Regions from separate parts of the Homo sapiens genome. Here region 1 is linked to region 2. The links are contacts of gene promoters, found by promoter capture Hi-C in blood cells and fetal thymus (Javierre and others, 2016). All regions are on one chromosome and are shown on one strand. Each heading gives the region's core, a stretch centred on a gene start or on the middle of the fragment in contact. The rest is flanking DNA. Distances are from core to core; before and after follow the strand shown.

What was found. Contacts are between HindIII fragments. The CHiCAGO score rates a contact against its expected background, and 5 or more counts as called.
Region 1: a fragment that was not itself captured here is called in contact with the fragment with the promoter of HPSE in region 2 in 1 of 17 cell types (megakaryocytes); the score reaches 5.9 in megakaryocytes.

Annotation. Positions count from the first base shown.
Region 1 is chr4:83,443,277-83,449,342 of GRCh38, reverse strand. It overlaps HELQ (helicase, POLQ like), which reads left to right. Exons shown (of 18, transcript NM_133636.5): 3 at 382-560; 4 at 2,308-2,508; 5 at 3,257-3,329; 6 at 5,729-5,826. Among named protein-coding and RNA genes, the nearest start is that of HELQ, 9.5 kb to the left of the region's middle. The HindIII fragment of the contact is 3,442 bases long and covers 1-3,440 here.
Region 2 is chr4:83,333,405-83,340,019 of GRCh38, reverse strand. HPSE (heparanase) reads left to right here and starts at 5,172. Exons shown (of 12, transcript NM_001098540.3): 1 at 5,172-5,464. The coding sequence starts at 5,238. The HindIII fragment of the contact is 2,644 bases long and covers 4,092-6,615 here.

The sequences.
Region 1 (6,066 bases), core at 470-2,969, 110 kb before region 2:
TATAATCTCCTTGCAGAACATAAGAGGAAGACATTCGAATTCACACAGGTCCTTGTACTGTCCCTTTGTTCCTCTGATATCTCAGATGGCACTCCTTGTCCACGAGGCTGCTACCTGCCCTGCTGTAATATTGGACCCAAGTCTGCAGCTGGTGAATAAATGGGCTGGTTGCCCACCTTGCTGCCTAGGCCTGAACTAGGCTCTCACTGGCTGTACTACTTGCACATTTGGGATTTTTGACATGTAACATTGGTTATAATTAAATTTATCCTTATGAGAGGATTGCTCCACAGGAAGGGATTTGATTTTTTTTCTTAGAAAACTTTTGAGTTTCAAAGTTTGGAAGGGGAAAATAATGCCTTTTTTTTTTTAATTCCACAGAATGGCAACATACTTGTTTAACATTGAATTCTGTGCAAGAAAGAAAAAATTTAATATATTCCTTGCCAACAAGTGGTGGAAAAACCCTCGTGGCTGAGATTTTAATGCTGCAAGAACTGCTTTGCTGTCGGAAAGATGTTTTAATGATTCTTCCATATGTGGCAATTGTCCAAGAAAAGGTGTGTGTGTGTGTATGTTTTAAAACAAATGTTATTTGCTAGTACTTTGACGTTAAGATCTGTAAATGTGATAACTTTGTATTGTTGAGAAGTACCTCTTTTTTTTTTTTTTTGAGATGGAGTCTTGCTCTGTCACCCAGGTTGGAGTGCAGTGGCACCATCTTGGCTCACTGCAACCTCCGCCTCCCAGGTTCAAGCGATTCTCCTGCCTCAGCCTCCTGAGTAGCTGGGATTACAGGCCCATGCCACCATACCCAGCCAATTTTTGTGTTTTTAGTAGAGGCGGGGTTTCACCATATTGGCCAGGCTGGTCTCAAACTCCTGATCTCCAGTGATCCACCCGCCTCAGCCTCCCAAAGTGCTGGTATTACAGGCATGAGCCACTGCGCCTGGTGAGAAGTACCTCTTAATGATGGAGAATTAATATTTTTAGAATGTATAAAAGCAGTATACACTACCTAAAATATCTTCAAATACTAATTACCAGTTGTTGAAAGTTTTACTTTTTCTAAACTGGTGGATTAAACATCATCTTAAATGTTCTATTACTATTTACCCTGCTTTTTCTTTTTTGAGATGTAGTCTCCCTCTGTCGCCCAGGCTGGAGTGCAGTGGCACAATCTCTGCTCACTGCAACCTCCGCCTCTTGGGTTCAAGTGATTCTCCTGCCTCAGCTTCCCAAGTAGCTAGGATTGCAGGTGTGTGCCACCATGCCTGGCTAATTTTTGTATTTTTAGTAGAGATGGGTTTTCATCATGTTGGACAGGCTGGTCTCGAACTTCTGACCTAAAGTGATCCTCCCACCTCGGCCCCCCAAAGTGCTGGGATTACAGGTGTGAGCCACTGTGCCCGGCCTTACCTTGCTTTTTCAAGCAGAAACTATTACTAAAATGAGTTATTCTGATGCTTTTTTTTTTTTTTTTGAGACAGTCTTGCTCTATCACCCAGGCTGGAGTGCAGTGGCATGATCTCAGCTCACTGCAACCCCCACCTCCCAGACTCAAGTAATTCTCATGCCCCACGACCCCACCCAGCAGCCAGAATCGCAAGCACACGCCACCACGCCCGGCTAATTTTTTTATTTTTGGTAGAGATGATGTCTCGCCATGTTGGCCAGGCTGATCTCAAACGCCTGTCCTCAAGTGATCCACCTGCCTCAGCCTCCTAAAATGCTGAGATTACAGGCATGAGCCAACACACCCCTGATGCTTTTTGGTATCAAAGGCGCCAGTTGAAATTTATTTTCACATGTATTTTAGAAGTTGCATTTATTTTGCAAAGATCGAGACATTACAGCATTTCTTACGTATGTCTTGCCTGTGACCTTGTTCCTGTTGATGGGTATTAAACACTACTTTAGCTTTTTTGAACCCCATGAGCACCTAATGGGGGGTTTTTTACTTGTGTTTTTTGGTTTTGTTTATTTATTTATTTTTGAGTCAGGGTCTTGCTCTGTCGCCCAGGCTGGAGTGCAGTGGCATGACCAAGGCTTACTGCAGCCTCAATTCTCTGGACTCAGGCAGTCCTCCCACCTCAGCTTCCCAAGTAGCTGAGACTACAGGCCTGTGCCACCACAGCCAGCGAATTTTTTATTTTTTATAGAGATGAGGTCTCACTGTGTTGCCCAGGCTGGTCTCACCTTCCTGGGCTCAAGTGATCTTCCCGCCTCAGCCTCCCAAGGTACTGGGATTACAGGCATTGGCCACAATGCCTGGCCAATTTTTCTTTATTTTAACTAATATTCTAGATTTCAGGTTTGTCAAGTTTTGGTATAGAACTCGGTTTCTTTGTTGAAGAATATGCTGGAAGCAAAGGAAGATTTCCTCCAACTAAAAGAAGGGAAAAGAAATCACTCTATATTGCCACTATTGAAAAAGGACATAGCTTGGTGAACTCCTTGATTGAAACTGGAAGAATTGACAGTCTGGGTCTGGTTGTTGTAGACGAGGTTGGTTAATACTTTTGTAATTTGTCAATATTTTTATTATACTAAATATTTATTATTCTGGTTATTGTGTGGATCTACTTAGTACCTTAGTACCTCTATAAAAATAAATTTATTTGAAAATATAGACAATATAGGTGAAGACATTCTATGCTTGATAATCTTAAATTTGGTTTTGTGTCAAGTGTTTCTTGAAGTGTGAACACGTATGTGTGTAGTATACAATTTTATTGGCTGGGCGTGGTGGCTCATGCCTGTAATCCTAGCACTTTGGGAGGCCGAGGCAGGTGAATCACTTGATGTTAGGAGTTCAAGACCAGCCTGGCCAACAGGTGAAACCCTGTCTCTACTAAAAATACAAAAATTAGCCGGGCGTGGTGGTGGGCGCCTGTAATCCCAGCCACTCGGGAGGCTGAGGCAGGAGAATCGCTGTAACCCAGGAGGTGGAGGTTGCAGTGAGCTAGGATCACGCCATTGCACTCCAGCCTGGGGGTCAAGAGCCAAACTCCGTTTAAAAAAAAAATTTTTTTAGTAGTACTTATGAATCCCAGATTTATAAGGATTTTGTACCAAAAGCTCATTAACCTAAATACCAGTGAAATAATATACATGTATTATAGTTGTTATATTCAAAATACTTAAAAGTTATAAGCAACTCTTTACAAACAAATTTCATATGAATATATGCATGTTTTATATGAGCACTATATGAAGATTTACTTCTCTGTCCTTTTTAAAAAAAATCTCGAAGTTGCACATGATTGGTGAAGGAAGCCGTGGAGCTACACTGGAAATGACCCTAGCAAAAATCCTCTACACTAGCAGTAAGTATTTTTTCAAATGAGGTCATGAATTGATTTATAATCAAGAGACTTATAAAATACTTAATTCTATCACTAGCTACAGTATGTAACCTAAAGCAAGATACTTAAGCTTTTTGCCTTTGTTTTAAAATTTCTAATGAATAGAATTTTGAAGGTAAATGAAATTGGTATTTGAAGAAGTCCTCTATTATTATCCGCCACTTACTAGCTATGTGTGCCCAGGCACATCCCTCAACCTCTATGTTTCTTTATCTGTAAAACAAGGATAATAATGGTACCAGCCTGATGGGATTGTTGTAAGGATAGTGTGAGTTAACACATGTATTGCATTCAGCAGTGCTTAGCACACTGCATTCAGTAAGGGTTTGCTGCTGCTACTGTGGCCATCATCATCATCACCATAATAATACATATAACATAAATATTATAATAATAATATTGTAAAGCGATACATTTAAATAGGTCAGTTTAAGGAGCTATTTTGCAGCATCAGGTAGTCTTTAAAGTTTATGAAAAATTTATTCTAAATGTCATAACCTACTATTGATATGCTATTGCAATATTTACCTTATATATGGAAAAATTAACTATAAAGGTCAAATCTTAAAAAGTATTTAAAAAATTTCAACAGCAATAATATTTAAGCAGGTTATAGCATTTTATAATTGTTCATTCAAAAAAATATTGATCACCTACTGTGTGCTAGGCACTATTTTAAGTGCTAGGGATACAGCAGTGAATAAAATAGTCCCTGCTTTCATCAAGCCTGTATTTTAGGGCATCCCTATTTGAATATTCTCTGAACAGCTAAGCCTAACTAAGGCTTAGTCTGAGCCAAACTCATTTCCTTCAAAGCCGTTCTTCAGCCTGAATTCTCAGCCACCACTCTCCAGCCAGCCAAGCCAGGGTCCTACATATTCTATCAGCAACCAAATCCTATCTGGTTTACCTCATAAATATATTGTTACTTCTGTCTCTCCTATCCCTCATTACCACTAAGTCTTTAGTTCAGTACCTCATCCTTTCTACCTGGATTGCCACAGAAATCACCAAGTTCTTCTGTGTACCCACTGCCCTTCATCCACCAAATCCATCTTTCTTTAGCGCAAGAAGAATGATCTTTCCCAAATGCAAATCCAATTAGTTTATTTTACTGTTTACCATTCTTTAATAGCTCCCCTTTGCTTTCTGCATAAATCCCTAATTTCTTAGCACAGCCTTTCTTGATTTGACCCCATGCCCACCTCTTCAGCTTTGTAGTCTATCCTTATGGAATGAGAAGGATACTCCCACTTATTCCTCTTTCAGTGAGTTTCTTGAATGATCATTTCAAGACATAGGAGCAATGAAGAAACATTTGCAAAGAAGGCCTATTTGGGTTTTCATTCAATAGTTAAGTCTATAGAAAGCAGCCATTTTGTATTGCCCAGGATGTCATATGGCTTCATAAGCTTCACTCCACCTTTATTTAAAACAACATCAACAAAAACTATAGTCCCAACTACTCGGGAGGTTGGGGCAAGGAGAACTGCTTGAACCCAGGAGGTGGAGGTTGCAGTGAGCCGAGATCATGCCACTGCACTCCAGCCTGGGCAACAGAGCAAGACTCTGTCTCAAAAAAATAAATAAATAAATAAAATTAAAAGTTAGCTTGATAGCAAGATCTCATAGAGGACTTTTCATGGGCCAAGAGTTCGAGACGCATTTAGCCCTCTATCCTACTACCTCTACATCTGTCTATAGCCATACCTGTGGAACATATCATAGCTCTTCGTAAAGGGGATCCAGATAGACAGTTATAAGCAGATTTATACTCATTTATTATTGTTTAGAAGCCTTAATATCCTAGTTCTTGCCAAGTTTGAAACTCTGTAAACTTCTAAGTAGTAACTTTCAGGATACCTGAAAAATTTCATTCTTCAAATGCCAGATTAATACTCTGGTAATATATTTGTAGTTTTCTTTTTTTAAGAGGTCAGGTCTCACTGTTGCCCAAGCTGCAGTGCAGTGACACAATCATGGCTCACTGCAGCCTTGACTTCCTGGGCTCAAGCGATCCTCCCACCTCAGCCTCCTAAGTAGCTGGGACTACAGGCGTGCACTACCATGCCCAGGTAATTTTTAATTTTTTTGTAGAGATGAGGTCTTACTATGTTGCCCAGGCTAGTGTTGAAGTCCTGCCCTCAAGCGATCTTCCCACCTCAGCCTCCGAAAGTGTTGAGATTACAGATGTGAGCCAGGCACCCAGCTATTTGTATTTTTCTTACTTACCTCTCCCACCCCTTTCCCAAATCACTCAGGAAGAATTCAGAGCACAAAAGACTTGCTAAAATTACTTTATGATATATTAAATAACATATTTTCCTTAACACTTTGGCTTTTGTTTGTTTGTGTTTTAGAAACGACTCAAATTATTGGTATGAGTGCAACATTAAACAATGTTGAAGACCTACAAAAGTTTCTTCAAGCAGAATATTATACCAGTCAATTTAGACCAGTATGTACCTAAGGTTTGCACTGTATTGATTTGTTTCGTATTCATCTAACTTAGAAATGAAAGTAGTAAACATAGGATTTAAAGAATTCTGTAGAGTAGTGAAGGGGCATATTTTACTCACCATGACTATATGCTAATAAGAGGTTGTGTATAGAGAATTTAAGAGTTTGTGTATAGGTCAGGGATCTTGGGTTGGGTCACTAATGTATCTATAGCCTGGCCCACAGGCTGTCAATGAAC
Region 2 (6,615 bases), core at 3,923-6,422:
ATCCATGCTCTCACACACCACAGGACCTTTCCACAGGCCATTCCCCTAGCCTTGAATGATTTCCCTCTACCTAGTTGTCTACTCATCTTTCAGATCTTAAGTGTCACATCCTCAATGGCCCCTCCCCCCAAATCGAAATTCTACCTCATACACACGTAAAGCACCATGATCACCTTTGGAGCACCTACCACACTTGCAATTTCACTTTTGCGTGATATTTTTAAATTCATTATTATTATTATTATTATTATTATTATTATTATTATTATTATTTTGAAACAGAGTCTGTCTCTGTTGCCTAGGCTGGAGTGCAATGGCGCAATCTTGGGTCACTGCAAACTCTGCCTCTCGGGCTCAAGCAATACTCCTGACTTAGCCTCCTGAGTAGCTGGGACCACAGGCACATGCCACCATGCCAGCTAATTTTTTGTATTTTGGGAAGATACGGGGTTTCACTATGTTGCTAACGCTGGTCTTGAACTCTTGGAGTCAAGTGATCCACTTGCCTCAGCAGTGAGATTACAGGCGTGAGCCACCACCATCCTGTGATTTTTAAAATACCTTCTACTTCCCCAGTAAGACTTCAGAGCACAGGAACAATCCCTGCTTGCTGCTTACAGTTGCCTAGCTCAGTGCTTGGTACATAGTAGGTGCCCAATAACTACTTGAATGAATAGATGAATAAACGAATATGTGAAAGCACATTGTAGAACACCATGCATGCAATAGATGTTAACTTCCTTCCTTTCACCATTCAGCAAAAATTTTCTCTTAATTTCTCCTTGCTTTGAAATACAGTTTGATTGGCAAATAATTAAAAGCAAAACTTAACTTTAGAAAGTCATAACCCAATAACTCAAAACAACACATTTGTAACTATTTATTTGCCCGGAGATAACTACAAATGCCTAAAAGTTTGCCCACATTCAGAGATTTCTACATTAGAAAAGTCTTAATTTTCTAAACAGACAAGTGATAAGATTATCATTTTCTGAAAATATCCTGAAATCAGTCTGTTGTTTTACAAGTGTTTGTAATTGTTGACCAGGTAAACCTTGTGTGAATCCCTAAAAACCCAATGCCAGTACTGAAAATCAATCCACAGACCACATGGAAATGAGATCACATGATAATTATTTTTTGTATTTTTATGCATTTATTTTTTATTTATTAATATTTTTTGAGACAGAGTCTCACATTGTTGTCCAGGCTGGAGTGCAGTGGCATGATCATGGCTCACTGCAGTCTCTATCTCCTGGGCTCAAGCAAGCTTCCCACCTTAGCCTGTGAAGTAGCTGGTACTACAAGTGCATGCCACCACATCCAGCTAATTAAAAAACATTTTTTTTTTTTTTAGAGATGGGATCTTGCTATGTTGCCCTGGCTGGTTTCAAACTCCTGGGCCCAAGCGATTCTCCCTCCTCAGCCTCCCAAAGCACTGGGATTACAGGTGTGAGCCACTGCACCCAGCCCCATAATTAATAAAGCGTTCACATAAACTTTCTAGTTCATTTAAAGTTTTTTATTTCTAAATCATTTTCATCACATAATTTGTGAGTCCCTAAATCTGCGTGAGGTAGTGGAAAAACTCTGGGCTTGGAATCAGAAAGCTGTAAATCTACTTTACAAGGTTATTGCAAAGATTAAGTGGGGGTAATAATTTTTTAAAAAATAATCTCTCATCTGTTAAACACATACCTCACATTGTAGATGGAGCTAGCTGTGTTACATTATTGTCAATTAATTCTTTAAAAAAAGACTATGGGCCAGGCATGGTGGCTCATGCCTATAATCCCAGCACTTTGGGAAGCATAAGTGGGTGGATCTCTGAGCTCAGCAATTTGAGACCAGCCTGGGCAACATGGAGGAACCCCATCTCTACCAAAAATGCAAAAAATTAACAGGGCATGGTGGGGCACACCTGTGGTCCCAGCTACTTGGGAGGCTGAGGTGGGAGGATTGCTTGAGTGTGGAGGTGGAGGTTTCAGTGAGCCAAGATCACATCACTGTATTCCAACCTGGGTGACAGAGTGAGACCCTGTTTCAAAAAAAAAAAATCTTATGAAATATGTATTATTACCCCTACTATATAGATGAAGAAATTGAGGCTCTTGGAAATTGACGATCTGGCCCAAGATTGTACATCCCATCAAGCTGCAGGGCTAAGATGTATGAAAAAGGGCTCTAGCTAGGATGTATGTAGCTGTAACTTGCTATAAAAATTAAGGTGTCTTATTATAAAATATCTCTGAAATGATAGTTCCTATTAATATTCCTATATGTTCCTCCTTCCTATGTATCCATATCATACATCCTTATCAGACATTGTAAATCAAACCAAATTAGAAGCAGGAGCAAGATCTCAGCCAACAGATCATCATGTGTGCAAATTGCTTCTCTGCCCCCTCGTTTTTGTTTTCCCAGTTTCTTTTCTTTTTCTTTTTTTTCTTTTTTTTTTGACAGGGTCTTGCTCTGTCTCCCATTGTGCAGCGGCATGATCTTGGCTCACTGCAATCTCTGCCTCCCATGCAATTCTTATGCATCAGCCTCCTGAGTAGCTTGGATTATAGGTCTGCGCCACCACTCCTGGCTACACCATGTTGCCCAGGCTGGTCTTGAACTCTTGGGCTCTAGTGATCCACCCGCCTTGGCCTCCCAAAGTGCTGGGATTACAGGTGTGAGCCATCACACCCGGCCCCCCGTTTCCATATTAGTAACTCACATGTAGACCACAAGGATGCACTATTTAGAAAACTTGCAATGGTCCACTTTTCAAATCACCCAAACATGTTAAAGAAATTGGTATGACTGGGCATGGCACAGTGGCTCATGCCTGCAATCCTAGCATTTTGTGAGGCTGAGACGGGCAGATCACGAGGTCAGGAGATTGAGACCATCCTGACAGACATGGTGAAATCCCATCTCTACTAAAAATACAAAACAATTAGCCGGGGGTGATGGCAGGCCCCTGTAGTCCCAGCTACTCGGGAGGCTGAGGCAGGAGAATGGCGTGAATCCAGGAGGCAGAGCTTGCAGTGAGCCGAGATGGTGCCACTGCACTCCAGCCTGGGCGACAGAGCGAGACTCCGTCTCAAAAAAAAAAAAAAAGAAAGAAATTGGTATGACTGTTGACTCACAACAGGAGTCAGGGGCATGGGGTGGGGTGTAAGATTAATGTCATGACAAATGTGGAAAAGAAACTTCTGTTTTTCCAACTCCACGTCTGCTACCATATTATTACACTCTTCTGGTAGTGTGGTGTTTATGTGTGAATTTTTTTTCATATGTATACAGTAATTGTAGGATATGAACCTGATTCTAGTTGCAAAACTCACTATGAGCTTAGCTTTTAAGTTGCTTAAGAATAGGTAGATCTATGCAAATAATGATAATTATTATTATTATTTTAAGAGAGGGTCTCACTTTGTCACCCAGGCTGGAGTGCAGTGGTGTGATTAAGGGTCACTGCAACCTCCACCTCCCAGGCTCAAATAAACCTCCCACCTCAGCCTCCCCAGTAGCTGGAACCACAGGCACGGGCCACCACGCCTGGCTAATTTTTTGTATTTTTTGTAGAGATGGGGTTTCATCATGTTGCCCAGGCTGTTCTTGAATTCCTCGGCTCAAGCAATCCTCCCACCTTGGCCTCCCAAAATGCTGGCATCACAGGCATGATGGCATCACTGGCATCACATACCATGCCTGGCCTGATTTATGCAAATTAGATATGCATTTCAAAATAATCTATTTTTATTTGTTGCCTTATTGGTGGTACAATCTCAAGTGGAAAAATCTAAGGGTTTTGGTGTTATTTGCTTACTCAACCAATATTTATTAGACTCTTACTAAGCACCAACATGATCACATGCCTGAGCTATGGCTAGCATAGCGTGTGAGACAAACTTAATCTCTGTTTTGGTGGAGCATATAATCTAGTAGATGAAGCCAATGTTGAGCAACATCACAATACTAACAAATTGAGGATGCTACGAGAGTGTCTAACAAATTGAGGATGCTACGAGAGTGTCTAACAAATTGAGGATGCTATGAGAGTGTGTCATGGAGAGCTGCCTGGAGATTGAGAGAAAGCTTCCTTGAGGGAAGTTACATTTCAGCTGAAACACACTGCCATCTGCTCGAGGTTTTGTAACTGCATTCACATCCCGATTCTGACACTTCACATCCCGATTCTGACACTTCACCCAGTTACTGTCTCAGAGCTTGGGTCCGCATGTGTAAAACAAGGACAGTATGCACTTGGCAGGGTTGTGAGAAGGGAAGAGAACACAAGTAAAGCACCTGTATCAGGCATACAGTAGGCACTAAGCGTGCGATGCTTGCTATGATTATACATCAGTGTAAGCATCAAGGAAAAGCTGAAGAAAAGTCTGACCAACAGCGAAAGATAAATGCGCAGAGGAGAAATTTGGCAAAGGCTCCAAATTCAGGGGCAGTCCGTACTCTACACTTTGTATGGGGGCTTCAGGTCCTGAGTTCCAGACATTGGAGCAACTAACCCTTTAAGATTGCTAAATATTGTCTTAATGAGAAGTTGATAAAGAATTTTGGGTGGTTGATCTCTTTCCAGCTGCAGTTTAGCGTATGCTGAGGCCAGATTTTTTCAAGCAAAAGTAAAATACCTGAGAAACTGCCTGGCCAGAGGACAATCAGATTTTGGCTGGCTCAAGTGACAAGCAAGTGTTTATAAGCTAGATGGGAGAGGAAGGGATGAATACTCCATTGGAGGTTTTACTCGAGGGTCAGAGGGATACCCGGCGCCATCAGAATGGGATCTGGGAGTCGGAAACGCTGGGTTCCCACGAGAGCGCGCAGAACACGTGCGTCAGGAAGCCTGGTCCGGGATGCCCAGCGCTGCTCCCCGGGCGCTCCTCCCCGGGCGCTCCTCCCCAGGCCTCCCGGGCGCTTGGATCCCGGCCATCTCCGCACCCTTCAAGTGGGTGTGGGTGATTTCGTAAGTGAACGTGACCGCCACCGAGGGGAAAGCGAGCAAGGAAGTAGGAGAGAGCCGGGCAGGCGGGGCGGGGTTGGATTGGGAGCAGTGGGAGGGATGCAGAAGAGGAGTGGGAGGGATGGAGGGCGCAGTGGGAGGGGTGAGGAGGCGTAACGGGGCGGAGGAAAGGAGAAAAGGGCGCTGGGGCTCGGCGGGAGGAAGTGCTAGAGCTCTCGACTCTCCGCTGCGCGGCAGCTGGCGGGGGGAGCAGCCAGGTGAGCCCAAGATGCTGCTGCGCTCGAAGCCTGCGCTGCCGCCGCCGCTGATGCTGCTGCTCCTGGGGCCGCTGGGTCCCCTCTCCCCTGGCGCCCTGCCCCGACCTGCGCAAGCACAGGACGTCGTGGACCTGGACTTCTTCACCCAGGAGCCGCTGCACCTGGTGAGCCCCTCGTTCCTGTCCGTCACCATTGACGCCAACCTGGCCACGGACCCGCGGTTCCTCATCCTCCTGGGGTAAGCGCCAGCCTCCTGGTCCTGTCCCCTTTCCTGTCCTCCTGACACCTATGTCTGCCCCGCCAGCCGCTCTCCTTCTTTTGCGCGGAAACAACTTCACACCGGAACCTCCCCGCCTGTCTCTCCCCACCCCACTTCCCGCCTCTCATTCTCCCTCTCCCTCCCTTACTCTCAGACCCCAAACTGCTTTTTGGGGGGTATCATTTAAAAAATAGATTTAGGGGTTACAAGTGCAGTTCTGTTCCATGGGTATATTGCATTGTGGTGGCATCTGGGCTCTTAGTGTAACTGTCACCCGAATGTTGTACATTGTATCTAATAGGTAATTTCTCATCCCTCATCCCTCTCCCACCCTCCCACCTTTTGGAGTCTCCAGTGTCTACTATTCCACTAAGTCCATGTGTACACATTGTTTAGCGCCCACTCTAAATGAGCCTTTTTGTTTCATTCATTCTGTAAGTGTTGAATAGGCACCACCTAAGGTCAGGTATAAGTGGAAATTTGAAAAAGAAACTGCCCACTTGCCCCAGTACTTCCCTAGCCAAGAGGAGGGAAACCAGGCAGGTGCACCTGAAGGCCTGTGAGTGCTTGATTTGCTGTGCAGTGTAGGACAAGTAAGATTGTGCATAGCCTTCTGTATTTAAGACTGTGTTAGGAAGATTTCTCTTTCTTTTCTTTTCTTTTTCTTTTTTCTTTTCTTTTTTTTTTTTTAGGCAGATGAAAAGGGCGTCACAGAACAGGAATAAAAATCTAAATATTCAATAAATGAGACCTAGGAGACTACTGCAGTGACTTACAAAGTCCTAATAAAAAGATGTCTCTCCAAAATGGGGCTGCAAAATGTGGTGCTGCCTTATCAGCTCTAAGTTTTTTCCTTACCTGAGAAAGAAGGAACCTGATGCAGGTTCAGGGCTCCTGCCCCATGAATGCAGGCTGACTCCAAGATGGGGAGCTACAGGGACAATCCCAGGTCTTCTAGGCCTCTTATTTAGGCCCTGGGAGCCTCCAGAGATGGCCACATCTTGACCAGCCCAGATAGAGGGAAAGATCACCATTATCTCACCTCTGTGTCAAATACCTAGATGCTGTCCTCCCTGAGCCCACACTATAGTTGCCAGCGCTAATTTAATGGGTAGTGTACTGGTTAAGAG